7 separate regions of the Homo sapiens genome follow, and all the other regions are linked to region 1. Evidence: promoter capture Hi-C in 16 types of primary human blood cells and fetal thymus (Javierre and others, 2016). All regions are on one chromosome and are shown on one strand. Each heading gives the region's core, a stretch centred on a gene start or on the middle of the fragment in contact. The rest is flanking DNA. Distances are from core to core; before and after follow the strand shown.

Evidence for each region. The method cuts DNA at HindIII sites, captures the fragments that hold promoters and counts their contacts. A CHiCAGO score of 5 or more calls a contact.
Region 2: a contact is called between a fragment that was not itself captured here and the fragment with the promoter of ZNF703 in region 1, in 9 of 17 cell types (naive CD4 T cells, M2 macrophages, M0 macrophages and 6 more). The highest score is 12.7, in naive CD4 T cells.
Region 3: the fragment with the promoter of LSM1 here is called in contact with the fragment with the promoter of ZNF703 in region 1 in 8 of 17 cell types (activated CD4 T cells, neutrophils, naive CD8 T cells and 5 more); the score reaches 11.0 in activated CD4 T cells.
Region 4: a fragment that was not itself captured here is called in contact with the fragment with the promoter of ZNF703 in region 1 in 7 of 17 cell types (M0 macrophages, naive CD4 T cells, M2 macrophages and 4 more); the score reaches 13.4 in M0 macrophages.
Region 5: a fragment that was not itself captured here is called in contact with the fragment with the promoter of ZNF703 in region 1 in 3 of 17 cell types (M0 macrophages, M1 macrophages and M2 macrophages); the score reaches 8.7 in M0 macrophages.
Region 6: a contact is called between a fragment that was not itself captured here and the fragment with the promoter of ZNF703 in region 1, in 3 of 17 cell types (M1 macrophages, M2 macrophages and M0 macrophages). The highest score is 7.4, in M1 macrophages.
Region 7: a fragment that was not itself captured here is called in contact with the fragment with the promoter of ZNF703 in region 1 in 4 of 17 cell types (M0 macrophages, M2 macrophages, M1 macrophages and 1 more); the score reaches 9.3 in M0 macrophages.

The regions. Positions count from the first base shown.
Region 1 is chr8:37,694,187-37,697,461 of GRCh38, reverse strand. ZNF703 (zinc finger protein 703) reads right to left here and starts at 1,680. Exons shown (of 2, transcript NM_025069.3): 1 at 1,240-1,680; 2 at 1-317. The coding sequence starts at 1,482. It overlaps LOC124901932 (a long non-coding RNA gene), which reads right to left. Exons shown (of 2, transcript XR_007060887.1): 2 at 2,679-3,047. LOC124901933 (a long non-coding RNA gene) reads left to right here and starts at 1,781. Exons shown (of 2, transcript XR_007060888.1): 1 at 1,781-2,022; 2 at 2,479-2,717. RefSeq lists enhancers at 749-1,291, 1,292-1,835 and silencers at 1,570-1,669, 1,720-2,069, 2,857-3,041. The HindIII fragment of the contact is 16,475 bases long and covers 1-3,275 here.
Region 2 is chr8:37,196,312-37,199,586 of GRCh38, reverse strand. No RefSeq gene overlaps it. Among named protein-coding and RNA genes, the nearest start is that of LINC01605, 400 kb to the left of the region's middle. The HindIII fragment of the contact is 2,998 bases long and covers 33-3,030 here.
Region 3 is chr8:38,175,009-38,178,283 of GRCh38, reverse strand. It overlaps LSM1 (LSM1 homolog, mRNA degradation associated), which reads left to right and starts at 1,791. Exons shown (of 4, transcript NM_014462.3): 1 at 1,791-2,009. The coding sequence starts at 1,964. BAG4 (BAG cochaperone 4) reads right to left here and starts at 1,429. Exons shown (of 5, transcript NM_004874.4): 1 at 1,145-1,429. The coding sequence starts at 1,414. RefSeq lists enhancers at 487-826, 1,737-1,886, 1,108-1,965, 2,297-2,386, 1,966-2,823. The HindIII fragment of the contact is 945 bases long and covers 1,142-2,086 here.
Region 4 is chr8:37,222,709-37,225,983 of GRCh38, reverse strand. No RefSeq gene overlaps it. Among named protein-coding and RNA genes, the nearest start is that of LINC01605, 380 kb to the left of the region's middle. The HindIII fragment of the contact is 3,506 bases long and covers 1-3,275 here.
Region 5 is chr8:37,239,905-37,243,179 of GRCh38, reverse strand. No RefSeq gene overlaps it. Among named protein-coding and RNA genes, the nearest start is that of LINC01605, 360 kb to the left of the region's middle. The HindIII fragment of the contact is 2,561 bases long and covers 167-2,727 here.
Region 6 is chr8:37,271,726-37,275,000 of GRCh38, reverse strand. No RefSeq gene overlaps it. Among named protein-coding and RNA genes, the nearest start is that of LINC01605, 330 kb to the left of the region's middle. The HindIII fragment of the contact is 2,234 bases long and covers 342-2,575 here.
Region 7 is chr8:37,298,984-37,302,258 of GRCh38, reverse strand. No RefSeq gene overlaps it. Among named protein-coding and RNA genes, the nearest start is that of LINC01605, 300 kb to the left of the region's middle. The HindIII fragment of the contact is 4,577 bases long and covers 1-3,275 here.

The DNA of each region.
Region 1 (3,275 bases), core at 431-2,930:
CCCGGGGACGAGGAGGACGAGGAGGAGGTGGAAGACACCGAGGAGGAGCCGCTGTCTTTGCGGGAGTCGCCGCCGCCGGAGCCCTTGGAGTAGGGCTTGAAGCTGGACTTGTCCTCGGCCGGTGAGTCCCCCAGCTGCTTCAGGGCCGCGGCTGCGGAGGCGGCGCCCGGGGCTGAGCGGCCGGGGTCCTTCTCCGCTCCCAGCCCGTTGGCCGCCGCCGCCACCGAGTTGAGTTTGGAGGAGGGCGGCGGGTCCGGCTTGCCGATCTGCGAGCAGGTCTGAGCCAGCAGCGCCAAGGGGCTCTTCTTGGCGTCCAGCTGTGGGAGACAGAAGCAGGGGGAGGGAGAAGGAGTGAGACTCAGAGGCCTGCGGGGCGAGCGGGGGCGCCCGGGGAGCTGGGCGGCGGCGCCACGGGGCGGGGCGGGCCTGGGGAGAGGGTCTGCGAGCGAGGGCCGGGCCGGGCGCGGCAGCTGGCGGAACTGCGCCCACACTGCCGCTGGGTCCCGGGGTGCGCCGCAGGCCCTGCGGAAGGAGTTCACCCAGGACCCCTGCGGGAGAAGGTGACGTCTCTGGAGTCGGGGCTGTGACTCGCCACTTCCCTCTAATGTCCCCCTCCTCCAGGCCCAGGAAAAAACTTATTCCTTTAGTTTGGGGGAACTTCGCTTGGGACGGGTTTCTGGCGATGGCGCCGCGGGGTAGGAGAGGGGAGCGCGGATTCTAAAGGAGGGGCTGCAGTTGGCGCTCTCTCCGTAGCCCCTCCCTCCCGGGGAGGGCACCCAGGGAAGAGGCAGGAAGAAAGATCCGGGATCGGGAGCGCCAGGGCGCCGTGCGCCCTCACCGGATGGGACAGAGGCGAAGTGGGACCCGGGCAGCCAGGGCTTCAAAGAAAACAGCCCGGCGTGGGGGGCGGGGAAGACCCAGCAGAGACCAACTCCTGGCTGGAAACTGGGGATCAGAGGAAAAGTAAAGGACCCAGAGGGGACTCCAGGAGCAAATCCAATCCGAGAGAAAACACGGAGCTCCGAAGGGCGAGCGTGGAAGGAGACCCTTCCACGGGGAAGCCTGGGGAAGCCCTGGTGGGCTCTGATCCCTCGGTTTTCTTCCCCTCCTCACTCAGCCCGCCAGCGTGACCAGACTTGGGTGTCGCACCGAGCCCCGGGGCGCTGGGAGCTGGGTCAGGGTCCCGGTCGCGGTGGGAGGAATGGGGCCGGCGCCCGGGGGCAGCGGCCGGGGACTGACCTCAATGGGGCTGACGGGAGTGGAGGACAGCGGCTGCAGGTACTCCGGGTGCAGGAGGTGACCGGTGTGAGCGCTCAGCATCTTCAGGACCCTGATCGGGAGCCGGTTCGCCTGGCGCAGGGGGTCCGCCGGTGGCAAGAGGGACACCGCTGCCGGCACCGCCGGCCTCTTCCCGCCGCCGCCGCTGCCGCTGCCGCTGCTTTCGGGTGTCCTTGGGTTAGATCCAGCGGGCGAATCGCTCATTTGGAGGAGGCAGCGCCGCTGGGGGGGCGGGGAGGGCGGGGGAGCACCGGGGAGGCGAGCTCCCGGGGCGGGTGGGCTCGCTCCGCAGCGTCGATCGCGGTGCAGCGGGAGCTGCGCCTCCTCGCCGCCTCCCCTCCTCCACCGACGCCTCCGCCGCCGCCGCCACCGCCGCTGGCCCCGGCTAGCAACACAAAAACCTTCGCCTTCCTCGAGCCGCACGTCAAATAGCCGCGATCGGCAGCCACACTTCAAAGGGATCGCCGCGCCCGCCCAATCGCAGCTCTCGCCGGGACCCCGGGGCGGGGAGAGCGGCGGGCTGAGGCCGGCTCCATCGGTGGGCGGGGAGAGCCTTAAAGGGGCCGCGCCGCGCGCCGCCGCTGCCTCGGTCTCGGCCGCTCCCGGGATTCCTCCCCTCCCCCCGACTGGGCCTTCCTCGCCCTGGGGTCCCCCGCCTGGGACGGGACTTCTCCGGGACCCTGAGCTCTGCGCCCCGTCCTCCTTTCCGGCCGCTCTCTCTCCTCTCTCCCTTCTCACCACTGGGTGGGTGGGGGGTGATGCTGGCGGGGGCTGTAACCCCGCCCGCCGTGTGTGTCCGAGGTGGGGTGGGGTGGGGTGGGGTGGGGTGGGAGGGATCGCACGGCGCGGGCTCTGGGACGCTGGAGTTCAAGCCTCTCCCAGAGGCCGCCTGGGGGCAGGCCTCGCCTCGGGAGCCCGGGTCCTTCTCCAGAGCTGCTCCGGCTCTCCTCGGCCCCGCTCTCCTTCCCCTACTTGGCCTCCCCTTGGTGTGTTCACTTGGAAGCGCCCGAGCCTCGGAGGCACCCACTGTTCTCGGGACGCGGCGTAGGCAGCTCCAACTACTTTGAGCCCGTCTTGTCTGAAGCCTGCAAGTTTGTCTCCCTTCTGGAGTGACATGGTCGGCGACCAAGCGCGGGACCCCAGGCTGTGCGCGCTGTGCCTGCGCCCTGCGTTAGAGGCTCGGTGTCTGGTGTGTTACAGGCTTCTTACCGTGTCCTGCTGAGGGGCGTGAAGTTCCTCACTGTACCGCGCCCAGCTGCTACGAGGAGAGACCGAGATCACGGGCGAGGCGGGTGTCCCTGGAGGGGGATCTCTCTCTAAGCGCTGCTCGGCAACACAACCCCTCCGCCCCCCCATCCTTCTCACTCCGGGGGAAAAAGCACTTGCTTTCCCCAGGCAAATTTCGGGATAAAAACTTTTAATTAAAAATAACAATACCCTTCCCGACTCCCTGCGCCTTTCTGATACAGTGTGCATTGCTAGCTTCGCCCTGGGCAGAGATTTTACGTAGTCATAGTCCTGACATCCAAGTTCCGGATCCGCCGCTTTTCCGGAGGCGAAGTTGGTCCTTTGGGTGCCGAACTCTGGGGAGCCCACTTCTCCGTGCGCTCGGCGGCCAGTGGAGGCGCGCTGGTGTCACTGCCTGGCTCCCAGCACCACTTTTCCAGTCCCGATCCATCACTCCGGTTGTCAGGGCTGTCACTCGGGGCGTATTGCTCTAGGATGGCAGGTTCCCGACTCTGCCGCGCTGACCGACGCCTTGAGATGACCTGAGAACCCAAGATGGGGAGAGGTGATTTCAAAGGAGCTCTTCAAACAGAAAGAAATAGCTATCACGAATCTGTATCTTGCCCAGTAGTAGAAGACAGCAGACCCCACTTCCAGGCAGTATCAGTCATACCCAAAACTAAGTGCACTCCCTGGATCCATACTGTATTTTGGGCAGCACTTATAGAATGCTTAGAAATTACACAAGCTGTAATTACATGTTCCCCAAT
Region 2 (3,275 bases), core at 282-2,781, 500 kb after region 1:
ATCAAATTTTACTGCATGATGGTTTAAAAGCTTAGTTGATATAAGACTGATTTTATAAAATTGATGAGGTTTCTTTTATGACCCAATATACAATTTAGATTTACAAACGTTTTGGGTGCACTTGCAGAGTTCTGTAAGTGCTGAAACACTGTTTTGTTGTTCAGATCTTTTACATTTCCCTTCATTTATTTTGTCTCCTTGATCTATTTGTTTCTGGGAAGGGTCTGTTGAAATCTTCAGTTGGTATTTTTGATTTACCTTTTTCTCTCTCTAATTTATGTCAGTTGTTGCTTAGGTCAATATTTTGAGACTGTATTGTTAGGAGTGTTAATGTTCAAAATGGTTAGCAAATGATATTTTACTTAAGCCCTTAGGATTTTCTGTTTCAATATTAAATTCAACTTCTTCTGGTATTAACAGTGTTAACCCACTTTTTTGGGGGGGTTTATATTTTTGGAGTTTTTTTTTCAATTTTTACATTTTTAACCTTTCCATTCTTTTGGTTCTAAGTATATTTCTTGTAGACATTATGTTGCTAGATCTCTTTTAAAACCCAGTCTGAAACTTAATATTTAGACTGGTGAGTTTAACCCATTTACACTTATAGTAGTGCCTATTATATTAGGATTTATCACATCTTAGTTCATATTTCCCACTTGCTCTGCTGAACACTCCCACCTCTTCTGCTTTCAATTCAATGTCTTTCATCTTTCTTTAATTTTAGAAAATGTATCTTTATTATTTTTAATTTTTTATTATAAAATATAGTATACATAGGTATGAGTTTATGAAAAACATGCACGCACAGTTTGAATACAATTTTTAAAAAAATCACCCAGAGACCCACTTCCAGGATCGCAAAATAGAATGTCACCAACTACTCAGAAGCACCCTGGGTGCATTGCCCTGTCACATCCCACTCGCTCTTCTCCTGCAAATGAGCATTGTCTTGAATTTTGTTTTTTAGTTTTAGTTTTTTACCATCTAATAGGTATTCCTCAACAATATATTATTTAGTTTTGTTTGATTTTGACCTTGATATGAATGGAATAGTCTTTTCTTTAAAATATCTGTGTATTTAGAGCACTATGTGTTTGAGGTCTATCCATGTCAATAATTAAATCTATAATTCATTTATTTTCATTGCTGTATATGCGAGTGTATGATTATACCACAATTTATTTATTCATTGCACTGTCTATTGATATTTAGTTCCTGGATTTTTCCTGTGAAGGATAGTGCTGCCATAAGCATTCTTTTACATATCTTTTGGCGCATATGTTTGAGAATTTTTCTAAGGTAAATGCCTAGTGGTGGAATTGCTAGAATGTAGATTATGTGCGTATTTAACTTTAGTTTGGCATGTTTAATGCCAAAGTATTTCCACCGGGTTGAACCAGGTTATATCTCACCAGCAGTTTCTATTGCTTTGAGTTTCTATTGCTTTGCATTGTCGGTAAGGCTTGACATGTTGAGAACACTAAATTTGGTTCACATCTTTATTATTGCTTCAAAAATGTATTTTCTAGCTGGGCGCGGTGGCTCATGCCTATAATCCCAGCACTTTGGAGGCCAAGGCAGGCAGATCACAAGGTCAGGAGTTCAAGACCAGCCTGGCCAACATGGTGAAATCCCATCTCTACTAAAAATACAAAATTACCTGGATGTGGTTGCACACACCTGTAGTCCCAGCTACTTGGGAGGCTGAGGCAGGAGAATCGCTTGTACCCGGGACGTGGAGGTTGCAGTGAGCCAAGATCATGCCATTGCACTCCAGCCTGGGTGACAGAGCAAAACTCCGTCTCAAAAAAAAAAAAGAAAAAAAAGAGAGAATTCAAAAATTTATTTATTTATTTTCTTCCTGTGTTATCCCCTCATTCTTATTTACTGTTATTGACCCTTCTTTTAGACAAGTTTCTTAACTTTAAAAAATTGTTTTCCATCTCCTGCTCCTTTCAGGAAAAGCTCTTCTGTTACATTTTACAACTCCTTAATTCTTTTTCTTTTTTTTTTTTTTGCTCTATCCATCATGTAAATTGCTGAATATTTGATTCTTTATTTCCATTATCATCTATAATATTTCCACTTGGTTCTTTCTTTATGCTTATATTATCCCTTATATCTTTATTTGGTAAGCCTATTTAAATTATTGATCTGCTTAAGCTAATCATTTGGCTTTAGATGGTCGACATTTTTTATTTAGTTGCCTTTCTTTTGAGTGGTTGTACTCCTTGAGTGGTTGTACTCCTTGAGTGGTTATTCTGGCATGTAGGCTCAAGTTCCTTTGGGGATATTTCCCTTTGGGGAAGAACTGATGTCATGTAGACTGTGTTTTACTCACTGGGTTTAAAGAGATGGTAGATGATGAACCCCAGGTGGTAAAGACAGTTAAACCCTACAGAATTATTGCTGGTCACTCAAAATTGCCCCCACTCTTATTAGGTACTTTCTCTGACCAGGGTTTTGCTTTAAATTCTCAGAACAAGGAATTCCTGGGCGGAGAGTAAATACCCAAAATAGTTGCTTGGTCAACCCCTATTTTCCTCACTCTTCACCCCAACAACACTTTCGCACTTTCCTGATATTCTCCTGCTGATGGAGGGTGAGACCCAGCCAACTTAGCTTAACAAGCCTTCCAAGTAATTCCCATGCATGTGAAGTAATGAGAACCACTGGGTTTTTCATTTCTCAGGTTGATATTGAAGGGAGGAACCAACAGCCTGAACTGGTTTGCTATATGGTCAAGATCTGAGGACTGATTTCAACATCCTCATTTTTGAAGAGTTCCCTGATCCTGTTTCATGAAGGCACATCTTCTTTTATCCTTTTGAAATGATTAACCAGAGTTTAAATTTTCTTTTCAAATTTTCTCCTCTTGTCTGCATTGCCTTCATTTATAACAAGTTTCTTGTTTCTGTTTTGCTTGCTTGTTTTTGTTTTGGTCTTTTTCTTTCATGTGTTAGGAGTTCCCCACAGGTCTAGTAATCACTGCATGTCAGTTTGTAATGAAGGCGGGGTTGCTTGGAAGCTTTGTTTCCCAGAAGGAGGCCTCTTGGTTTGGGGCTTTGCTTGCAGGCTGATTGGGCTAGGACCCAGCCATTTCATGTGGGGATCCCCTCCCCTCCCTTAATGTCACTAACCACAGATATTTTCTCTTAGGCCCATCAGTTTCCCAGGGGAGAATCCTTAAGTATCCTGCATCAGGTATGTCAGCTTAGCTGCTGTCATAAATGTGTTTAATGTAGTTGCTGCCTCTGCACCCATTTCTAGGCTGA
Region 3 (3,275 bases), core at 542-3,041, 480 kb before region 1:
ACTCGAGAGGCTGAGGCAGGAGAATCGCTTAAACCGGGAGGCGGAGGTTGCAGTGAGCCGAGATGGCACCACTGCACTCCAGCCTGGGCAACAGAGCGAGACTCCAACTCAAAAAAAAAAAAAACAAAAAAAACGACATTTCTACTTTTTGGCGATTATGAATAATGATGCTATGAACATGGGCGGACAAGCTTTATGTGAACATACGTTATCAGTTTTCTTGGGTATATAGCCAGGAGTGGGCTTGCTGGGTCATAGACTAATTCTAATGCTTAATGTTTTGAGGAACTACCAAACTATTTTCCACCATTTTACATCCCCACCAGCAATGTACGAGAATTTCACTATTACATTTTCAACAAATGAGGATAATTCTTGAACGAACAGAGAGGTATGCTGCCACCGCAGAACGACAACCCACTACCCAGAAGACTGTATTAACAAAGCAGAAGTATATGTCCGGCAGGAAAACGGAGAATAAAATGTTGCAGGTCCAAGTGTATTAGGCAAGTGAGTTAACCTCGCAGAGCCCCGGTTCCTTATTCGAAAACAAAAAAAAGGGCCGCTGTAATGCCATTTTACCTTGCAGTCGCCGTGAAAATTAAATCAGTCAATCCGCGTAAAGGTACTTTACAACACTGATTATTCATGATTCGATCTCAGGCAAGGCATTAGGGGCAAACAGCTAAATGCCCAGATCCCTCCTCCTCGCAAAGGTTCCTTCCCCTCGGGAGGGTCCCTGAGCGGCATCGGGGGCTGCAGCCACTTCCCTTCCCCGGGAGAGCCGGCCTGCCAGCCACGCAGGATAAATTGCTAGAGCTGGAGCAGTAGATCCGTGCCACCCCTACCCAGCACCGCTCCCAGGAGAGAGATCTGCAGCCTGCTGCTAAGCTTAGTAAGTCCGCGCAGGATCTTTCTTTTTTAAATGGTAATAAACATATTTTTTGGGGTCGAAGCAGAAAAGGAGGGGCAAAGGGAACACAAGCATGTCCCCCCAACCTCTGATCTTAGTCTCGGTCTCTCCAACACCCCCCGCAACACACCCTCCTCCACATAAGGAAAACAAGTATGAAACCCGATCCTTTACGAACCCCAGCCCCAAGGGCCCTCACCTCCCCGCAAGGACAGAGGGTGCAAAGCTTACCTGGTGGCTTCCTCCGGCTCGACCAGGCTCTGGCCAGGCGCCTCCCGAGGGATAGTAGCCATCGCCTCCTCCGCCTTCTCCCAGCCAGGTGGTCTCCGCCGGGCCGCCCCCGCGCACCCGCCAGGAAATGGGAGGCTGGGGAGGTTCAGGGCGAAGAGGATATAAGGGTGGAGGTGGGTGTACCGGCACATCTCCACCCCCAGGCCCGTAGTAGCGGCCGTAGGACGGACCGTCACTGGGGCCGTAGCCCGAGCGCCTCAGGGCCGACATGGGATCCGCTGCCCTGAAGCGCTTCCCGCCCCGCTCCCCACGGCCGACCCATCGCGCAGGCGCCCGCGGGCGATTGCGAATGGAGAGCAGCGAAGGGGGTCGGACGACGCCAGCCAATCCCAGGCCCGGGCCCGCCCCTTCTGCTGCCGAACCCCGAAAGCTGAGGGACGGAGGTCAGTGACTCTGGGGTCTCGGGAACCCGGAGACGAAGGAAGACACCGTGTTCCTTAAGAGGGAGTATACGTTTCCTCGCCATTTATCCAATGGAGTTTCCTCTTACCTACTTAACAGGAACAGGGAAAGGGTGTCCCCCAACGGTACGGCTGCCCCGCCTCTTCCTGGGGGCCCACACGTGTTACAGGAAGTGGGTAAGGGTAATATGGAGGAGCTTCCGGCAGCCCCCGGCGGCTGAAAGCCGGGGCAGAAGTGCTGGTCTCGGTCGGGATTCCGGGCTTGGTCCCACCGAGGCGGCGACTGCGGTAGGAGGGAAGAGGTTTTGGACGCGCTGGCCTCCCGCCGCTGTGCATTGCAGCATTATTTCAGTTCAAAATGAACTATATGCCTGGCACCGCCAGCCTCATCGAGGACATTGACAGTGAGTAGTTTATCTCCTCCCGGTGGAGCCCGGGGTTAGACCCTTCCTCCCGGGCGGGCGCCTCTTCCGAAGAAGCTTGTAGAATGAGTCCCGGGCGGGGCCGGTGTGTTCTGAGCTCAATCCGGGCGTTCCGCGTCGATGTCCTCCACAGCTGCGGTACACACCGCTTGCCCACCCAGTAGCCTGCTGCTACTTCTGCCCCTCGCAGCCTCCGCCAGCCCTCTAGCTGGTGAGCCCCAAGCGATGGAACTCATTCTTGCTTCCGTGGATCGCGGCAGCAGAGGCCCGAACACGAAAGAAGCCCGGGGAGGGGGGGGGCTTCTCCCCCGTCCACTCCTGCCTGCAGTATTTCGAAGTATCAGCGTGTTACCGGTGGATGGATCGGAATACCTAGAGAGAGGATTCATTAAAAAGCGAAAATATTAAGACAGCGGCAGTTGGACTTAATTGGCAGTAAATGTAGGCGCTCTACGGTGTGGCCATTTGCTAGCTTATTTTACTGTGAGGGTCATTAGCACCTTCAGGTTATTGTAGTAGAGACCACTGTTAGACATGGTATTGACTTTTCTGGAAAGACCAAATCACTTGCAACCTTTTTTTTTTTTTTAAGACAATTTACTTTTGCTTTTACTAAGAAGACCTCCCTTATTCCTGGTTTTTGTCCGGAAGAGGAGCTCAGTCCTATACAAAAGCGAAAAGAACCGTCTGCAGTTGTTCTGGCTTTCCTTTTTTCTAAATTCCGTCTGTGCATTATTCCTCAAGCAACATTTTTTATTGTTTTAATCATGTGATCTTTCTCATTAACTTGTTTCAAGATGATTTACACATAGTTTTAAATAAGTTGCAATCGTCTCAGTTACTCTGTGAATACGCAATTTAGAATCTATGGTTAAAATTTCATTTTACGGGCCTGGCGCGGTGGCTCACGCCTGTAATCCCAGCACTTTGGGGGGCCGAGGCGGGCAGATCGCCTGAGGTCGGGAGTTCAAGACCAGCCTAGCCAACATGGTGAAACCCCGTTCCTACAATTAGCTGGGCACTATGGCGGTGCCTGTAATCCCAGCTACTCGGGAGGCTGAGGCGGGAGAATCGCTTGAACCCGGGAGGAGAAGGTTGCAGTGAGCCGAGATCGCACCATTGCACTCCAGCCTGAGCGACAGAGCAAGACTCCGTCTCAAAAAAAAAAAAAAAATCATTTTATGGTTGACAGATCTTTTTTCTTTTCTTTTCTTTTTTTTTTTTTTTTTTTGAGACAGAGTCTTGCTC
Region 4 (3,275 bases), core at 470-2,969, 470 kb after region 1:
TATACAGAGCCTTTTGCATTTTTTTTTCCTGCTGTTTAGGAACTCAGATTTCTCTATTCCACTTGGTCCCTGGTGATCAAGGTCCCAATGGCAAAGATTTTTCCTCCCACGGTGCTGCCTCATCTATTAGTGTGCTAGTGCCGGCAGGAGATGAGGGGGCAGGGGGTCACTTATTTGATTGTCGTATCATTTATGTGGCTGTGACTTCCAATGCCATTATCTTTGTTTAGCACAAACGGAGAGCAGTTAGTGCTCCTGGTAATCTATCTCGGAATCAAAAAGCTATGGAGACAGAGACAGCCTCTTCTCCGAGCCTTTATCTCTTACCACCATCATTTTCTCAGCTGGGAGCAGGCGACGACCCTGCTTCCAATATGCTGCTCAATGATTTTAGATGATTGATCTTTCTAAAGTGCTTTTCCGTTTCTTGCCACACAGACGCGGATAGATTAAGCAATTATGGATTATTTCAACATCAGATGGCCCAAGACAATTAGTCAGAGAAGAAGCAAAGAAGTGGCCCTGCTGGCTTTTGGTGAAGGGGAATTTTCAGGCGGAGGTAAAGGTGGAAGCAAGGATGGGTTTGCTCATTGGGATGGACAGGCAGGGGAGAAGGCCTGGTTGATCTGCGGGGTTGGGAGGGAATATACATATTTATACAGTGGGAACAGTTAGGATTTTTTTTTAATGGGACTATGGCATAAAGAACCCTCACTATCTTTGAATTAAGCTAGCACTTTCCAGTAGCATTCTTTTTAAGGGAGATGAGATTGCTGATGCTTCTTGGAGGAAAAAAAAAGTTGCAAGAAGGAGAGAGAGAGACTGAGTAGTGCATGTAATAAAAGACAATAGATTAGATAGTCTCAGAATGGATCCGGGGCCCTAAATCACTCCCAGGCCTGGCTGCCAGGGCACAGACTTCCCGAGCGGGGCCTTCATGTTTTATGGTGGCGGCGGCCCTCCCGGGAGTGAGTTACAACCTTGCCGTCAGTGGGCGGCTATCTGTTATCCTACATGTAAACAGGTATTCAAATCCTGACTCCGGAACCTTCTCCTTGGCGTTTAATCATCCTGGTAATCTAACCCCCGTCCCCCGCCAAGGTCGCTGTTTTGGATTGCATGACTTTCAGACTCTTCTCTGGCACTGAAGGCAGGCGCAGCCGGGCTGACAGCCGCCCAACTCATCAACTGGGCTGACAGGCCCAAAAATTAACTTTGATATTTTGTGTGGAATAATTCAGTGGCAATTGGGCCAGATGATGTTCTGTAACCTAAATTCAATTTCCATCACAGGGAAGCATCAGAGAGCTAGTCACCTACTTGCCAAGAGCACCTAGCAATCTAAGGGGTATGCATGCATGTGCGTGCGTGCGTGTGTTTGCGTGCATGTGTGTGTGTGGTAGATTTGTAGATATATATACACACACACACTGTGCATCAGTCATTTCTATTAATATGTGATAGATTAATATGTACTTGTGGATGCAGTCATCGATTATTTGGGGGACGATTGTGCAGGGTCCTGTCCTTTCTTTCCTCCCTCACTGCCTGTGTTTAATTCTCTCCTTTTCTGTGGTGAGGGGCAGACGGGAGGGGAGGAGTGTTGGAGTGGGAGGGGAAGTGTAAAACACTCCATTATGCTTCTTAGCAGTTTTCCAGAATGCCTGGGGATGAAGGGAGGCATTGCTCTAATGCCAAATCTGAGACCGGCTGATACTTCAGTGTGATGTGGGTCACCTGTGTCTCTTGGGTAGGGTAGATCAGTGGGCAGCCTGCCACCCGCAGAGACGAGGAATTGAGAGTCAAATCCTGGCTGTGTCTCTTTCCAGATGTGTGGCCTCATTGCCTCACTTCATCTCTTGAAGCCTCAGTATCTCTGTTTGCAAAATGGAGAAAACCATTCTCTTGGTGCCTGGCACCCAGAGTAGGTGTTCAATAAATGGCAGCTATTGCTAGTCATGGCAGTGAGAACATGTTGAATCCTGATTTCCTCCACACCTTGGCCCTTTGGAAAGCCTCCCCTGTTGATATACCTTTTGAGAGGCAGGGACCACCTCATTGCCAGAGCCCAGAGCCTCTCCTAAAGGAGGAAGTGGTGGCCTTGGAGAGGAGCTTCTCCCAAATTAGTCACAAATCCTGGATAGTAAGACCAATGGGAGCTTGGAGATCAGCCACTCTCATGGGGGCATTTACCAGGACAAGATGCTGAGGCCCAGACAGTGCAAGTGAACTGCTCAATATCTCAGAGTGGCAGACACCAAGCATCGATCACATATCCTCTTGCTCGGATTCTCAGCAAGGAGCAACTGCCCCTACTCGCTTCCTATGAGGGCATTAGAGACTTGATGTTGGGGCCAGGCCACAGGACTGACTGTGGAATTGCTAACTCCTGAGATCCTTCCTCTTGGAGGAGGTCTAAGCCAGACACTTTATGCCAAATTCTGCTCATGCGAATGTGGTGCCCCCATGGGCTTTTGGGGCAATACCCCCATCACTGTTGGCATAGGCAGCAAGGGTAGAGAAGGTAATGTCTTGCTTTGGAGATGGTTGAGGTCGGGGAGAGAGGCGTGGTTCTAGGAGAAGAAAAGGAAAGAGAGAACAAATGTAAGAAACCATCTGTGGGTATTAGCGCACGCAGCGTCCCACACGACCTCATGTTGGCTCTTTTGTTAGTATCACTATCCTATTTGCATTAAAAAACCTAAGACTCTGAGGAGTGTATGTACTTGCTCAAAGCCACAGCTAGGAAATGGCAGAGGTGGGCTTTAAATGCAGTGCTTGACTTCAACTCAAGTGCTCTAGTCTGTGACATCTTGTGGCCACCAAAGGCAGACTCTGACCAGATTTATGTTCATGGTCCTGAGCCTGGGTCACCAATTAATGTCTTTTTCTGGTGAAGTCTGAGATCTAAATATTGTGAACCCCACAGGCCTTGGCAGTGCATGGAGGGGTGTTTGCCAAATGTGAGGGTCTTATTTGTTCCTTCAGGTCTCCCCAGGAAATGCTTTTGTTCATTTCCATACAGACATGGCTCCCTTCACTGGGGACCGTGTATTTTTTCTTTGACTAGAAACACCATGTGTGTCATGTTTTCTTTGAAAAGGAAAGCCCTGGGATCATCTGCATCAGGTTATAAAATGATCCCAAGGTCCATTTCTGGCTCTAGGCAAGTTGAGCATACATCACCTCGTTTAATTCAGCAATATCATCAATGTCAGTGCGTATCCACCGGCTGTTGGCTATTGGTCATCCGGACCTGACACAAACTCAATAAA
Region 5 (3,275 bases), core at 198-2,697, 450 kb after region 1:
CTTATGCTGCATTACATAAGATTAACTGCAAGCAATGGAGTTTAAATAGCAGAGATAAGTGCAGATGGAAATAAACCTGTTTAAAGCTAGAAATATTTGATGGGCCTCCTTGCTGCTTTTAAGATAATTGATCTGTATATCTGTATTGAATCTCACCATAAAAGCTTTGAAGAGACTTGTGGAAGAGCCTGTTCAGACCCAAATCACATTTCTCTGGGGCCACCCAACCAGGGTTAGAGTCTCTCCAAAGAGAAACTCTAGAGCTGGGAAACTGAAAAAAACTGAGGAGAAACAGGAGTCTTGTAGCTCTAGGCCCACCCCTCCACTGCCCCCATGCCAATTTCCTGGATAACAGCTAGAACTAAATGACCAGCCTCTTAGGGGGCTGAAACTATGACAAGCAGGATCATGAAAGGAACCTTGGTTCTTTAGTTTGTGGGAGAAAAGAGTGAGGTGGCTGGGAGGCTCTCAGTTGCTTTCTTTGAGGATTTCCAGCAATTTTAGGTAAAATAGTGCATCTCAATTTTCAATTATTCATGGCAAAGGAACGGTTAAAAAAAAAAACTTCTCATCCTTTGATACACGGTTTTACTGTTTATAACTAGCATGGAGCTCACATCACAATCCGCTTATCACGTAAGTTTGACATCTGATTGTGTCTATATTGTGTTCCACAAGGCATGTCCACTGGTCACGTGCTTGGTGACCAATGTCCAGTTGCTATAACATTTTGGAAACTGTTCCTTTCATCTTTGTGCTCACGGAGGCCAGATAGCAAACAGTGTATGAACTCACATCTATCCATGCACCACTGTTTGTTAGTGCTGATGTAGAAGGTTTGTTCTCTTTGTCTTCAGATGGTAGGGAGAGAATTAGGAGCAATCGATGGAGTAGAAGGAGACCTATGTTATCCTAAAAGGACAATATTTCCTAATAGTCATAGCAGACACAAACCTCAATCCACAAACCCAGATGGACAAGAAATACAATTTTTTTTTTTGAGATGGAGTCTTGCTCTGTTGCCCAGGCTGGAGTGCAGTAGCATGATCTCTGCTCACTGCAAGCTCCACCTCCCGGGTTCATGCCATTCTCCTGCCTCAGCCTCCTAAGTAGCTGGGACTACAGGTGCCTGCCACTATACCTGGCTAATTTTTTTTAAGAAATACAATTTTTAAAATTTTCTATAGCAAAACTTAATTTTTAAATGAAAAATTATGATTATATATATATATATGAATTGCTAATAGTCACAAGTGTCACTTTAAAAAAATTTTTTATTTCTGTAGGTTATTGGGGTACAGGTGGTATTTGGTAACATGAGTAAGTCCTTTAGTGGGGATTTGTGAGATTTTGATGCACCCATCACCTGAGCAGTATACACTGTGCCCTATTTGTAGTCTTTTATCCCTCATCCCCTTCCCACCCTTTCCCCCGAGTCCCCAAAGTCCACTGTGTCATTCTTATGCCTTTGCACCCTCATAGCTTAGCTCCCACTTATGAGTGTAAACATATGATGTTTGGTTTTCCACTCCTGAGTTACTTCACTTAGAACAATAGTCTCCAATCTCATCCAGGTCACTGCAAATGCCATTAGTTCATTCCTTTTTATGACTGAGTAATATTCCATTGTATATGTATACCACTGTTTCTTTATCCACTGGATGATTGATGGGCATTTGGGTTGGTTCCATGTTTTTGCAGTTGTGAATTGTGCTGCTATAAACATGTGTGTGCAAGTATCTTTTTCATATAATGATTTCTTTTCCTCTGGGTGGATACCCAGTAGTGGGATTGCTGAATCAAATGATACTTCTACTTTTATTTCTTTAGGGAATCTCTGCATTGAGCAAAACTTAATTCTATGATGATATCACAGTGCTTGGGCTAAAAACACCCAAATCGCAGTTTGAAGCCTAACACATTCACCTTCCCCCAGGTAGTGTATAAGTTGCAGGGATTTTAACAGAGAGCAGAGGCTGGAAGGGGTGGGGGCCTCTGTCTGGATTGCCATCATCCCTCTGTGTTGGCATCCATTAGGGGTGTCCTCATTCCCATCGGCCTTCGGTCTTCAGTCCAAGAAGTTCTCTGCAAGGTCTTCTTTGTTCCCAGCTTGTCCCGTTTGCTGGCTGTCTGTGCCACATTCATGCCACTTGTGGCTGTGTGGAGAACACGTGAGGTTCTCTGTGAGGTTGTCCAGGCCCGTCTGCCTGTGCCCTCCCCTCCTCCCTTCCCTCCTGCTTCCAGCACAGGGTTCTGTGTTGACAGAAGTTGGGGGGATTTTGAGGGGAGTCTTGCTGGGCCCTTTGGCTCTATCACAGAGTTGGAAGGTATTGGAGTGGGGCGGGGAAAGGCATCTTTCTGCCTTTGCTCTAATCTGGAAAGTCTGTCATCCCAGCCAGAGTTGGCCCAGGTGACAGTCTCTTCTTGGGGACTTCCCAGCACCTACATTTCCTTCCTTTTCTCTTGGACCCATGGTTTCCTTCCTCTCAGTTTAAGAATATAGAATCATTTATTTACGTGTTTTTTTTTTTTTGATGGGGGGAAACCTGGCTTAGACTAATCTCAGAGTCTTTTCAATCTTTGCCTCATTGTTTAGACCTTGGCTTTTGAAACTTCAGCCATAAATTTGACTCTTTGATTCTGCTGTTCCTTCCCTGAAGCGAAGGAACTTAAAAAAAGCCTTGGCTGCTGTCTACCAGAGGTAAGGGTGGCAAGGTAACAGAAGCTTCTGGGACTGTAAGCCACATGAGGTAAAATATGAAGATGTTATTACACACCACACTCAAAAGTTAAGACCAGATAGACTGTGCTGCCTGGGTAGCAAATGCCCCATCCCTGAAGACCTCTGAGCAGTGCCTGGACAATCTTTGTTGATGAGGAGATTTAGAGACCAGATGACATAACCTATCTATAGGTTCTATAATTCTGTGACTTTGGGGTGGGAAAAGCAGATACCACATGGGAGAATCCAAGGGAAGAAATCACAAGAAAGTCCACCTGACTGCACCTGAGCTCAAGGGCAGCCAGTGCTGGAAAAATGATGGTGGAGAGCCAGGGCTGTTTTCTGACCTTCTCTTCTCCACGGGGACCATTTCTCCTATGCGGCTGACTTATCCACATTTTGTGTCCCTTTAAACCAGAGATTCAAGTGTCAGTTTAATTGTCCTGTGGCACCAGTACTGTCATTAGCACTCAGTCGGTGTTAATTGGAGATGAACGTGGCATCCCCATTTCCTTTTGTAGAGATGCCAGTGATAGACAAGTCATCCTGATGG
Region 6 (3,275 bases), core at 209-2,708, 420 kb after region 1:
ATTAGGGTTATTGATAATAAAGCGACTTCATAAACTTGATTAAATGCATTCATTAATGAACATGTTGTGGGTGCCTGTGTGGAGGGTGGGGTGGAATGAAAGGTGGGAAAAATAAGAAAAAGAATCTCACTCAGTAAATGCCCCAGTGTGGCTCTGAATATGATGAGGAGGACTGAGGTATTTGGCAGGAAGATCAGGAGTCCCCAGGGGCTTGGCGGTTGAGAAAATTGCAGCAAAATTGCTGTCCAGAGCACATCATTTATTTCTACACAGTAGAAGACAAAGGCAACAAGGTGCTAAAAGAGAATAGCCCCAAGAATTGCCTGCAATGCCCCCAAGCTTGAGATTGCTTTGGTCGCCACCTTTCCCGGGGGAGAGCTGCAGAGGTTGTTATTAATTAACACAAGCAAAGCTCTTTCCCTTCCATTCCCCTACCAACTCTGCTGACGAAATCAGGAGGGCTGCAGGTTCCTGCTCCTTTGATCCTCTCCTAGCTTGCTAAGGATAATAGCGCCACATTAATTACAACCTTCTCTGTCTCTTTTGGCAAGGCTATGCAGTGCTGGGGAGACAGAGCGTAGGGTCCTTGTCCTCCATGTCACACCTAGGAACTGGGAAGACCTTACAGGCTTAGATAAACCTAGTTAACTCTGACCTCAACTCAGAGCCATGACAATTCGGAAAGGAATTCTTCACTCAACACATGTAGATTCAAAGTGGTGCAAATAGACCTGAGTTTAAATAAATAGAAAGGGGGCATTTAAAAAAATCAAACAAGCTGTTTATTAGAGGAAGCGTCAACACACTTCCCAAGCACCCACTTACCGAACAGCGGCTCATTGCTTACAATACACTCCTACCCCAGAGCAGGCTCCCTCGGTACCTCCCAGACAAGCAAGCCATTAGCTTGGCTCTGGTTATCGGTACATACTTACAGTTATACTGAATTTCTCTTACATCAGTTAAGGATTAAAAAAGAAATGAGTTCACAGTGGCCCATCATTTGGCTGCTGTGAGTCTGAATTAGTGCAATTATGTGGCGTTTCTCAAACTGCATTCTGGTTGGACATGGCGGATTCCTTCAGCTGTGGAAGAATCTGGTCCCTGACTTCCATGCACTACTCTCTAGCCCTTCTGTGTCCTGAAGCCTCCGTGGGTGGAATTTGGCAAGTGGGAGGCAATAGATAGCACTCACTCATTCCTGCAGTACAGCCACAGATGAAATGAAATATGAGAGCTGTTTTAAAAGATTTACGCAACCATCAGGTAACTGATACTGAGCAGGAAGATTTAACAGGCACCTTAGGTTTGTGAACCCCATTGATTTTGCCTTCAACCCATTTCTGTCAGTTGTTGAGTTGGTCTGAGTCTGTCTGTCATCCAGTCAACAGCATTTACTGAGAAAGACCTCAGTGTAGGCTCCTGTACTTTGGGGTTACGAGAATCAACCATCACGAGGAATCCCTGGATCTCAGGATTGAATGGTGCTCAAATCTCATCTCAGGCTGAATCCCTGGAGCAGCATCCCTGTCCCATGGTACTCACTCACCAACTTTTAGGGAAGCCTATTTTATTTTGGCGTAACTCAGACAGTCAGGAAACTCTTCTTTAGGCGGAGATGGATTCATCAAGACCTGAAAATTATGGTGCGGGATTACTTTGTAGGCAAGGCCAAGTAATAATGAGGTCTTCTTGGAACTTTGGCAACTAAACTCCCTGGGATGGATATCAAAGAGAATCCTGTGTGATACTGGACTCCTCTGGTGGGAAAAAGATTCCCCTAAGTCTAGTGGTCCCAATTTGCTCACTCACTACCCATCTGCTGACCACTGTGCAAGGTGCCTTGGGGGGATGCTTATGGCCAGTTGGGGAGACAAGGCACATCCTCATGGAGAGTCATTGTAATGTTTAGCAATATGTCTTTAGCTGATCAACGAACTGTAGAGCATTTGTAGTGATAAAGAGGAATGTAATAGCCTTAAATCCTATATACACTTTGACCAAGAAATTCCATTTCTAAGAATTTAACCTTAGAAAATAATACTAGAAAATGATTTATGTACAGGATTTGTATTGCAGCATTGTTTGTAATAGCTAACAATTAGAAATAACCTTAAAATCCAACATATGGGAATAGTTAGATAATTTATGGTTAAATCCATTCAATGGAATACTATCGTTATTCCATTAATGATGATAATAAAAACCATTAAAAACCATTGTTTTCAAATAATGTTTTAAGGGTATGGGAAAATGCTCATATTGGGATCTTAAGTGGAAATAAACACACAAACAAAATACAAAGCTATATATCCAGTTTTGAATATCTATTATCTATCATTCTATCATCTATCTATCTATCTATCTATCTATCTATCTATCTATCTATCATTTACCTATCATCTGTCTATTTATCATCTATGCTTGACACTGGTGTTTATTACTTTCTTTATACTTGCCTATACTTTCCAAAATTTACAATGAATGTAAAAGTGTATTTTTTTATTACCAGAAAAACTCAATTTATGTATTGTTGCCTGTTTCTATGGTAGAAAGAGGAAGGCAAGACCAAGCTTGAAGGAGAAAATGTGGCATTTGTAGTTCAACAATCCAAGAAGGGAGTAAGACCAAACAGAACCTTCCAGGTGTCATTGCTTCCTGGGTCTCCCTTTAAGCCTGTAGAGGAAGGTGAGCAAGAGAAGAGACAAACATGGGGCAGTGACTTTTCAGAAAGACTCCATGAAGAGGTGATGGAGAAGCCAGGTGGGGAAGTGAGGAGGGACAAGTTCTCACTGGCATTTTGGGTGATGGCCTGGCAAGATGGAGGGCTAAAAGAAGGCCTGGTAGGAAGCCCACAACAGGTTGGGGATGCTTGTTATGCAGTTCTGCCTTTTAATAACCGGCACTTGTATCCTATGATTTAACTTCTAACTTGAATTGAACTTCACTGAGATTTCAATGTAACCATTCCCGCTTGAGCTGTGAAGGTCAGTACAACTTGCCCTGGAATGCCTTTGGCCTTCTTGCTGCCAATACAATCCCATCATACCTCCAAGGTGCAGGCTTGACCTCGCTTCCTCCAAACACCAGCCCTCTTTCTCTTCTGAACACCTGTAGCACTTGCCCCTTAGCTGCACCCCTCACATACCACCTCTGACTGCACAGATAGACAGAATAGACCTAGCTCTCAATTTATTTGCTACCTTCATGGAGATGTATCTGATACACCCTGTTAACTACATCATAAGGCTTGGGAGAGCTGCCACTCTGTCTTG
Region 7 (3,275 bases), core at 438-2,937, 400 kb after region 1:
CATCCTGTTCCTAACTTGCTGGGTGACCTTGGGCCCACCCCATCTTGCTCAGCCTCAGAGTTGTAGGCTGGCTGGGCTTCGTGTTGTTCCTGACATTATTTATGACATGAGCCTGGTCACCCCTGTCCTGTAACTGCCTCACAGAGGTGCTCTAAGGATAAATAAGTCCATTATCTGCAGAGTGCCGAGAGCTCCTTGGAGGAAGGCTTTACATAAATGCACAGTTATTCTTGTGCTTATATTAAGTCGGTTCTTAACCTTTAGAGTAGGTTCATAAGATGCTGTGGAGGAGTGGGAAATAAATGAAAGATCTAGCTCCCCTTTCAGTCTCGGACTGAGAAAGCATGAATATTCACCTGTATGCCTTTTCAGACACATGCACACACCCCTATGTGCCCCCACCCCTGATGGAGCGCACTTGTGAAAGTTAAAGATTTAGCATGAACAGGGATAGCATTCAGCTTCCCTCAGATTTCTGTATCCCTAGTAGACTCTTCCTGGTTTCTAGCGTTGTCTGTCCTAAGTGACGCGGGGAAGCTGGAAAGCTACAGTGGCACCCTTCTGTATTCCAGATCCATGTGTGCCTCCCACTGGTATCCCAAAATCTTCAGGTTGATAACCGCGCTTGTAATGAGTTTACGTGTGTTCGTTCCCTGAAAGCTCCTTTCTCTCCTTGGAATACCTTTCTCATTGAATGGCATGAACATCTGCCCAGTGGTCCAGTTAGAAATCTGAGAAGCCTTCTTGCCTCCATCATTTCCTGTATCTTCCTCAAGTCCTGGTGGATTCTGTGCCCTGTATGTTTATCAGCTCCAAACCTTCCCCACCATGTCTATCCTCAGGCCCTCAGCATTCCTCCCCTGGACCATGGCCGTGTGCCCTTCCTTGGCTGGGGGTAGTGGTTGCAAGCAACAGAAACTCAGTATTGCTGTCGCCAAATATATTTTGTGCTTAAAATAGTAGGGGGAAACCAGAAAGTCAGGACTAGAAAATAGCTAGGAGTTAAGAGACCTCTAAATATTACACAGTTGGATCCTCAGTCAAGGTCCCCATTCCAGTGATCTGTTTCTGTGGAACAAAGCACCCCGCACTCAATTACTTAAAATGACAATGTTTATTTTGCTCATGAATAGGCAATTTGGGCATGGCTTACAGGGAGCAGCTTGTCTTTGCTCTACGTGGAGTTAGCTGGGGTGGCTGGAAGGGTGGGGCCTGAAGTCTCCCAAAGGCTCCCTCCTTCACAAGTCTGATGGTCAATGCTGGCTGTCAGCTGGAATCTTAGCTGGGATTGTTGGCCGGGACACCTACCTACACATGGCTGCTCTGTGTGGTCTGGGCTTCCCTGCAACGTGGTGGCTAGGTTCCCAGGGCAAGCCTCTCAAGAGAGAATGAGCCAGATGGAAGCCATCTCACTTTTCATGATGTAGTCTCTGAAGTCTTGCAGTGTTACTTCCATTGCTTTGATTCCAGAGGAGAAATAAACTCTACCTCTTGTTGGAGAGTAGCAAGACTGTGGAACAGCATGTGGAATTGGAAATATTGCTGTGGTCATTTTTGGAAAATACAATCTGCCACAGCCTGTGAAAAGTGTGCTGTTTAGTTACCCACTCAAAAGTCAACATTTCTAGAGGGGAGTGTTGGATTGACTGTGCCTGTCGTCCACTCCTGGCTACTCTGGCAGGTGAGGCAGAGAATCTTGCCCCTTCTATGATAGAAAGCAGCAGTGGTCTCCCTTCAGGACCACACAAAATAAGGAGTTTCCACTGAAAGGGAGATCAGGGTGCTAATAGGAAGATGGAAATGGGGATGTGGAGGACAGTATTGTGTGGTATGCTGCCCCCAAATGACAATGATCTTCTGCAGCCTGACTCCCCAGCTCTGTTTAGGTCTTCATTACTTTGATGCCATTATGATCTAAAATTCTATTGTGATCATGTGACCGCCAAGCCTAAGATCCTCTGATGTTTCCCAACAATTTTTGAATCAGTCTCAGTCTCCTCAGCCTGGCATAGCAGAGAGCTATGAACCTGGCCCTTCCCTACGTTTGCAGGTGTCTTCTGGCCACAGCCTAGAGCCCACAGCCCATGCACAGCCTCTTTACTGCCATGTTGCTTTCTGGCTCTTTTTCATGTTTTCCATAGTCTTCTTTGTCTGAAATTTTGTATTTGCAAATCTGCAGATCCTTCTGCATCAAAAGTCCTTCCTCTGCATCCTTGTGTACCAGGCTAGTTTTAATTTATATATATACACATATATATACATACATACACATATACATACATATATACATATATACATTCACACACACACCTGTGTCAAGGGCTGTCACCACCAAGAAGCCCTCTCTGGAGTCATGTCCCCCATCCAAGGTCAAGCTGTGGTTCTTTTCTGTGTTTTCATAGCTCTATTGCAGTTCTGATCTTTGCCTTTCTTGCCAGTTTTTTAAGAGGGGCAAAGACTCTGTCTTTACTGTCTTTAGATCCCTCAGAGATTAGAATGCCACTGGCCACATAGTGGTTGCTCAGTAAATGCCAACCAAATGGTAACGAACAATGTGAGGTGGTCCAGATCCCATTTTCTTTTCTTTTCTTTGAGAGAGAGTCTTACTCTGTCACCCAGGTTGGAGAGCAGTGGCACAATCTTGGCTCACTGCAACCTCTGCCTGCCTCCTGGGCTCAAGTGGTTCTTGTGCCTCAGCCTCCCAAGTAGCTGGAATTACAGGCATGCACCATCACACCAGGATACTTTTGGTATTCTTATTAGAGATGGGATTTCACCATGGTGGCCAGACTGTTCTTGAACTCCTGGCCCCTAGTGATCTGCCCTCCTTGGCCTCCCAAAGTGCTGGGATTACAGGTTTGAGCCACTATGCTTGGCCCCAGGCCCCATTTTTTAATATGACTGTCTGAGGCTGGGTGTCATGGTGGGACATAGCTTTTGCAGTTAAATGTTGGAAAGCCAGAACTGTTCACCACCAGTGACACTATTGACTGTGCAGAATAGGGCTGGAGGGGAAATCAGCTTGACTCAAGTTTCTGGGCCGCATGAAAAGTTGATGCTAGGCATTGGTGAGTTAGTTATAATTTGGGCCTGGGTGGGGTACCCCTGTGTGGGATATATACACATGCAACATAACGTGTGACCAAAACTGCTCTTTGGTTCAACATTATCCCAAGATAAATGAACACTGGAAAATGGCAGGGAGGAGCAAACCCATGTAACTGGCAAGGAGAATCATTTATTTTTCTTTGTACCTTTCTGATGTAATTGCTGTC